3 separate regions of the Homo sapiens genome follow, and regions 2 and 3 are each linked to region 1. Evidence: promoter capture Hi-C in 16 types of primary human blood cells and fetal thymus (Javierre and others, 2016). All regions are on one chromosome and are shown on one strand. Each heading gives the region's core, a stretch centred on a gene start or on the middle of the fragment in contact. The rest is flanking DNA. Distances are from core to core; before and after follow the strand shown.

Region 1 (2,521 bases), core at 1-2,500:
AGTCAGCTGAAACCAGGAAAGGGCTTTGAACAGCGCCTGCCCCGCAGTAGACACTTAGGGGCTTTACTGTCGTCATTCTCCCTCCTCTCACCTCCTCACTCACTCCTGGGCCCTCTTCCGGATCCAGCCCCAAATACGGGGAAGGGCTGAACACCGCCGGCCTGGCGTGGGTGGAGGGGGACAGCCAGGCCCCAAGGCTTGGCAGCCGCCTCGGGCTCAGAGGTCAGCTCCTGCTCCCTGGACACAGCTGGTGGGGTTGGGGCCTGTCCTACCTGCCCCACCTAAGCTTCTAGGACCTCCCGCAGCCCCAGCCCTGAGCCAGGCGGCCTATCCTCAGCCTGGAAGGAAAGGTTCAGCCTCGAGGCCATTGTCCAGATGAGAAAAGGCCTGGGAGGTGGGTGGGGACAGGCAGACGGCCCCTGAGAGTAGGGGCAGGGCTAAGCTTTGTTCAGACGCTGTTCTCTGCGGGGGGAGGTCCTTCCCCCATCTCCGTAAAGCTCCAATCCAACCCCAGAACAGTCCCAAATGCCACCTCCTGGGGATCCCGTCTCTTTCTTTGGCTAAGAAAGAATCCCCTGTGCTGTGACACAGAGCCTTTTGCGTTGGGTCCTGAAAGATGTGTAGGAGTTCCCCAGGGGCTGGGGGTGAGGAAAGAATTCCTGACTACAAAGCCAAGGCAAAAGCACGGCGGTGGGAGGTGCTCTGACAGAGCGGGGAACAGACGAAATGGAGTTCTGTGAAATTGGTAAAATATAAACTTGGCAATCACTTGACCAATGGTGTAGATGGGGAAACTGAGGCGCAGAGGGGCCAGGGAGTTGTTCCAGTCAGAGCTGTCTTGGCTTTCGGAACAGGGCTGCCCCATTACATGAGTGGGCACGTCGCTCGCTCTCTGGGAGGAGGAAAAAGTCTCCTCCAAGCCCGGGAACGTGCGCCAATCCCCCTCCAAAGCGCTTCCCCAGCCGCCCGCGCTGGAGCCCCGGCTCATGGACTACAAGTCCCGGCAGGCCCCGCGCCGCGGCGCATGCTAGGCGGGCGTCCCTTCGCGAGCCCGGCCGAGCCCGGGGGCCCAGTTCACCATTGTCTGGCCAACAGGGGCGGGGCGGGCGGCACGGCGGGCTCGCTCACTGGTCGGGCGGCGCGTCCGTCGCGCCCGGCGCCCACCCCCGTGCAGGCCCGGCCCCGCGCGCCCGCGCCCGGGCCGCCTGGCGCCCCGCCCGCGCCTTAGGACCCGCGGGGCCGCGCGGCGCATCCTGCGGGCGGCGGCGGCGGGCGAGGCGCCTGCAGCCGGGCGCAAGATGATGAAGTTTCGGTTCCGGCGGCAGGGCGCCGACCCGCAGCGCGAGAAGCTCAAGCAGGAGCTTTTCGCCTTCAACAAGGTGCGGCGGCGGCCCGGGCCCGGGCTCGGGCGGGAGGGGGCGGGACGGGGGCCTGGGCTGGGGGCCCGGGGTCGGAGCCACGTCGGGCCCGGGGGGCGGGGGCTGGCATGCAGCGCGGCGCGGGGCGGGGCCGGGCCGGGCCGCGCACCCCCTCGGCGGGCCCCGCTCTGGCTCGGACTCTGGGTGGGTCTGGGTCTCCGGCCGACTTTCCGTGTCTGCTCCCCGAGTCTCTGCGGGCCGCTCTGGCCCTGGCTCTGCCAGTCTGTGTGTGTGGGGGTCTGTCTCTGAGACTCTTTGCCTGTCTCTGGGTCTCTGTCCCTCTTTCTCCGCCGCTGACCGGCTGTCTCGCCCCAGTTGTGCCTGTGTGTGTGGTGGGGGTGTCTCTGCCTCTGCCCCTTCCTATCTCTGCCTGTCTCCCTTTATCTCTCTGCCTCTCATTTCTCTTGCTGCCTGTGCGTCTCTGAGTCTTCTTTGCCTGTCTCTCCCTGCGTGTCTCTCTCTCTGTCTCTGTGGAGTCTCTCGACCTCTGTCGCTCACTTCTGTCTCTTTATCCTTTTTCTTAGGGGCTCCATTGCGTCCCTGCTCGGCCCTTGGGACAGCCCTGGGGCCCGGTTTGTTTTGTGCTTTGGCACCCAGGAGGGTGAGAGAGTTAGTGGGGGCGAGGCAGCTGTGGGGGGTGCGGCTGGGAAATCCCTTCAAGGAGCCTCTCCTTCCTTCCCCCACTGCTCCAGGCTCTGCCTTGCCCTGCTCTGCCCTGCCCGGGGCTCCGAGTCCAGGGGACATGCCTGGCTGTGTACTACACTGCACTTCGCATCGTGGGGCCTCAGTTTCCCTAGCTGTGAAATGAGGCTACTTTTCTCCATACTGTGGGCCCTGGCTCCCTCTGCCACATGGGCCAGCTGTCCTGCCTTTCTGCACCAAGGTGGAGTGAGGTGGAGGCTTTTCCTTCCTTTCCCGGAGTGGGACACTAGGGGCCAGGGAAAGGGGCCGCCTCAGCCCCCGCCTCCCTCTGCACTGATGTTAGAGCAGGGCCTCAGCCCACTCCTGGCTCACTGCTCTGGGGACGTTGGTTTTGTCCTCATTCTTACCCCAGAGCCCACTGATGGCAGAGCCTCTCAGTGCTCTTCGAAATTAGAGTTATC
Region 2 (2,521 bases), core at 14-2,513, 1.7 Mb before region 1:
AAAAATCGGTCATTTTGTTTTTAGTTTCTTCTAATAACCAGGCTGAATTCTTTTTTATTTAGCCACTCTCATTTCATAGGCAAAGCAAGTCCAATTACATTTCATGTTATAGCAATTATCTATGTATGTTTTCCTCACTCCACTAAAATTTCACCTTTTCCCCGACCCACATTCTGCAGTGAATTCAGATCTATTTTCCATTTTTTTCTCACATTATTTATATAGCTACACTATCACTTCCACTTCCTTCTCTTGGGATATAGGTAGCATTTGGCAACCCATTTTAGCAGGTTGCTTATGCTCAACCCATGACAAAATATCACATCCTCACTTTCTCATCACTCTAGAAATCTTTCTGTTGTGTAAACCACCTGTGATTTTCAGCACTGTAACAAGCTTGAGAGGATCCAATTAGGAAGTTTGGGACCTGAGCATAGTAGACACTCAAGAAACGTGTTTCAGTGGAAGAAATGAACTTTCCATAGTAAAACAGTCACAGAGAAACCTAAAGTATAAATTTAGGAGTCAGGTGAAAAAAATGGGAACTGTATACTTTATACCTACTTTTTTCCTTCAGGATGACCTTGAATGTCAAAACCTAGTGAAATCAAGGCTAATGTGTATTGAAAATTCATTTAAGCTTGAGGCATTTAATTTTTGCCTGTTTAACTAAATCTCTACACATCTAATGTTATATACACATTAGTTTCTATCATAACATATCTTTCATTAAGCTTCTCTTTAATATTTCCATATCTGAGGGAAGGTGTAACCAGTGGTCACATAGAAATCTTTAAGATACTTCCAACTGTTTTTTTTTCAAACCTACTGGCTCCATATGGCAGTTATGGCATAACAGGAGAAGGGGAAGTAAAACAGGGAAGGGAGTCCTTTACATATTTTAAGGCTTCAAAGCTGGGAATAAAAGGCCTGAAAGCAGCTTACTCTTTTCTGTAATTTTAAGATCACTCTCTAGTGTGAAATCTCTATTTGATGGACACCTTCCTAAGTTACACTCATAAGGCCTCATTAGGATGTACAGTTGACCCTTGAACAACACATTTGAACTGTACAGATCCATTTATACTGGAATTTTTTTTTTCAACTGAACAGAGTTTGAAAGCACATTATTCAGGGATGGGAAACCTGCATAGATGTAGGGCTTTTCATATACACAGGTTCCACCAGGCTGACCGTGCAACTTGAGTATGGGTAGATTTTCGTATACATGGGTGGTCCTGGAACCAATCCCCCGAGTATACCAAAGGATAAGTGTACTTGAAATAGAGAGTTGATGAGTTATGTTTTTGAATACCCTTCACAGGGTTTCTTTCTGTAATGAATTAAAATCATATCAAATTAAGGTTAAGAAGTCAAGTTTCCTTCTTAAATTTCACATTAAATCTAAATAGGTTATATCCATACCACTACTTCTGATACTTCTGCTGAGTATCTAACATATTGCACTTCTTCAGACTTCTTCTGAATGTTCTGACACATAGAATGCACAAAACAAAATTGAAACAAAGTTGTAAAACCGAATTGAAGTTTCCCTTATCCATTAATTACGATGTTTGGCACCTGTATGAACACGTTGATGCTGAATAAGGTTTGTACTCTGGGTGAAGGTTTTACCACATATACGACATGCATAGGGTTTCTCTCCTGTGTGAATTCTCTGGTGTTGAATAAGGCATGTTCTCTGGCTAAAATCCTTATCACATTCATTACATTTATAGGGTCTCTCTCCAGTATGAGTTCTCTGATGTTGATTAAGTGATGAGGAATAAATGAAAGCTTTCCCACATTCATTACATTTATAGGGTTTTTCTCCAGTATGAATCCTTTGATGCTGAGTAAGATTTGCGCCTTGTCTATATGCTTTCCCACATATATTGCATTTAAAGGGTTTTTCTCCATTATGAATCCTCTGATGTTGAGTAAGGTGCACACTCTGGCTGAATGCTTTCCCACACACACTGCATTTATATGGTTTCTCTCCAGTATGTGTTCTATGATGTTGAGTAAGATTTGCACTCTGGCTGAAGGCTTTCCCACATATATTACATATATAGGATTTCTCTCCAGTGTGAGTGGTTTGATGTTGAATAAGGGTTGAGGAATGAGCAAAGGCTTTTCCACATTCATTACATTTATAACACTTCTCTCCAGAATGAATTCTCTGATGTCGAATAAGGTAAGTACTCTGACTAAACACTTTCCAACATTCATTGCATTTATATGGTTTCTTCCCAGTATGTATTTTTTGATGCTGAAGAAGGTGTGTACTCTGACTGAAAGTCTTCCCACATTCATTGCATATATAAGGTTTTTCTCCAGTATGAACTCTCTGATGATTAATCAGTGATGAACTATGACTGAAGGTTTTACCACATTCCAAGCATTTATATGGTTTCTCTCCAGTATGTGTCCTTTGATGGATGGTAAGGTGTGCACGCTGACTGAAGTCTTTCCCACAGTCATCACACTTATAGGGTTTCTCTCCAGTATGAATTCTCTG
Region 3 (2,521 bases), core at 14-2,513, 1.7 Mb before region 1:
GCATGGACCACAAGGTCAAGAATCCCTGGTGTACTCTACTATACATATACACACACAGAAACAGACTCGCAGTGTGCATAGATGAACACACATAAGCTTTACCTTGTCTTCCTCCCCTATATCCTTAGACTTGTAAGGGAACTGCCATCTGCTTGGGGTTGGTGGGGGATGGAGCTGCTATTAAAAAGGTAGTGTCAGAGGCAATGACTCGAATCTAAGCCAAACAACAGATTAAACCTCTAACCTGTTGTAACAAAAATTAAACATTTTTATAGAGAAAATAGTTTCATTATTTTAGTCACTGATGTTACAGAAGCTGTAATGACTGAACGGACTCTCAACAATAACAAAGTGAATCTGTTACTTGGAAGAAACTAGGAGAATTTCTTCTTAATACAGTGCTCAAGGTTCCCAAGGGAACTGTCAGGGGAAAGGGCGAGCCATTTATCTGCGTTGCATGTTAATGCCAGCCGATTCTAGCCTTTCACTATCAGAGGGTTGGGAAGACCAGCGGGTTGGACTGGAAAAGAGTGAAGAGGTTGGTGTGACTTCAAGTCCTTTAAGTGCTTCTATAGGAGACAGTTCTTTAGGGATATATTCGAAACCAGGATTCTCGAAGGAAACCTTAGAACCGGCCTGATCTGGAGGAGAACCGACACCACCTCTCCCCAGGCTCCAGCTCCGAGCCCTGCTGAGGCACAGTCGTGCCACCAAAGACAACTGTTTACAAGGCCCTGCGGAGGTGATGCGACAGCCTTGCCTTGCCTCCTGTCGCCTCCCCTTCCCGGCCAAGTCCCTCTGCCTCTTACTCCTCTTCAGCCGCAGGGTCGAGGTCGAGGGCAGCGGGGGAGTCGGGGACCGTGCGACGCGCAACGCTGGGACTGGGCCCACAGCAGCCTCCACCCCGTCTTTGCCCTCCCGCAAGCCACGAGCACGGGAGCCCGCGCGTGGACGGGCTCGGGCTGTCACTGATCGCGCGGACACTCGCGCGCTGCGCCCGGACATCAATACCTGTCGCTGGGACCCGGCCGACGGGCAGCCGGAGCGGCCCTAAGGCCACAGGCAACAATGGCGACGCTGGCACAGGCGCCTGCGTGGCGGGCTCAGTCCCGAGCGGCAGCGGATCCTCGGGCTCCGCCACTTCCCTTCCCCGCAAAGCACAGAGTGTCCCGGCCAGGAGCTGCACGTTCCAGCCCGGTCCTGAGAAGCCCGGCCCAGAAACCCCGGCGCCTCTGCTTAGCCGCGACCTCGCCTCGGCGTCACTGCGCATGTGCGCCAGAGGAACGCTGCGCGCCCGCAGAGCCAATCGGAGCCCAAGCTGCCGCCTCCCCCTCCCGCGCCTCTGGCCCTGGACCTGTCTCCATGGCAACCTCCTCCACCCATCGCTCTGACTTGCTTGTCAGCCTGCGAGGTTCCGAAGGGAACTTCAAAGTTTCCCCGGGCAGACGCAGGTCTGGTAGACGTCTTGGAGGCCAGGGAGGTGCCAGTAGCTGGAGGAGCGCCGGGAGTTGAAGCCCCGCGCCAACTACGCAGAGAAAACTGGGCGCCAGATTTCCTAGAGGAAGAATGGGCAGGGAAGATGTGGGTCTAAAGGCAGAAAGACTTAATGTGCGGTTTCGGGCTTTACTGTGCATACATACTAACTGTGAAAGGTTTTCACTTCCTCCTCAGGAATTTGATTCTGAGACTCTCAGATTGGGGGAAAAAAACCCATGTTCTTTCTTTCTTTCTTTTTTTTCTTTTGAGACGGAGTCTCGCTCTGTCGCCCAGGCTGGAGTGCAATGGTGCGAGCTCGGCTCACTGCAACCTCCGCCTCCTGGGTTCAAGTGATTCTCCTGTGTTCAAGTGATTCTCACTTGAACTTCCTGGGTTCAGCCTCCCGAGTAGCTGTTATTTCTAAGAGACACAAAACAAAAATACATAAAACACTGGAAAAATAAAAGCATAGAAAAACATATTCAAGGTGTTCCCGTTATCTACTGTTCTATTAACAAACCACCCCAAAACTTAGTGGTTTTGAAGGACAATCACCGTATTATGCTCATAAATTTCATGGTGAGGAATTTGAAAGGGGAACTGAGTGGGTGGGCCTTTGCCTCATTATGTCTGTAGCCTCTGTTGGGATGATTTGATGGCTGGGAGGGCCCGCTTCCAAGATGGCTTTTCCACTCACATGTCTACTGCTTGGGAGGAGATGGGCTAAAAGATGAACTCGGCTTGTGTTTGACCAGAGTGCCTCAATGTGGTCTCTCCAGCATAAAGGACTGAGGGCAGCTGGACTTGTTACATGGTGGCTCTGGGCTCCAAGAGTGAGCATTCCAGTGAACAAGAGAGAAGCGCCATGGCCAATTATAACATGGCCTTGGAAGTCACCTAACACCAATTCTGTCAGACTCTTGGTCAAAGCAATCACAAGCCTACAGAGAATCAAATGGAGGCAGAATCCTGTGAGGGTGGAGGAGGACTGTCAAAGACTCTTAATATCACCACACCAGGAAAATTTTAACAAAAAGAAAGTTGG

What was found. The method cuts DNA at HindIII sites, captures the fragments that hold promoters and counts their contacts. A CHiCAGO score of 5 or more calls a contact.
Region 2: a fragment that was not itself captured here is called in contact with the fragment with the promoter of LLGL1 in region 1 in 1 of 17 cell types (endothelial precursors); the score reaches 6.0 in endothelial precursors.
Region 3: a contact is called between the fragment with the promoter of ZNF287 here and the fragment with the promoter of LLGL1 in region 1, in 1 of 17 cell types (activated CD4 T cells). The highest score is 7.5, in activated CD4 T cells.

Annotation. Positions count from the first base shown.
Region 1 is chr17:18,224,385-18,226,905 of GRCh38, forward strand. LLGL1 (LLGL scribble cell polarity complex component 1) reads left to right here and starts at 1,251. Exons shown (of 23, transcript NM_004140.4): 1 at 1,251-1,379. The coding sequence starts at 1,299. RefSeq lists silencers at 913-1,392, 1,543-1,712. The HindIII fragment of the contact is 4,006 bases long and covers 441-2,521 here.
Region 2 is chr17:16,550,295-16,552,815 of GRCh38, forward strand. ZNF287 (zinc finger protein 287) reads right to left here. Exons shown (of 6, transcript NM_020653.4): 6 at 1-2,521. The coding sequence ends at 1,562. Among named protein-coding and RNA genes, the nearest start is that of ZNF287, 18 kb to the right of the region's middle. The HindIII fragment of the contact is 1,063 bases long and covers 733-1,795 here.
Region 3 is chr17:16,567,941-16,570,461 of GRCh38, forward strand. ZNF287 (zinc finger protein 287) reads right to left here and starts at 1,264. Exons shown (of 6, transcript NM_020653.4): 1 at 1,012-1,264. RefSeq lists enhancers at 327-828, 829-1,328. The HindIII fragment of the contact is 2,931 bases long and covers 95-2,521 here.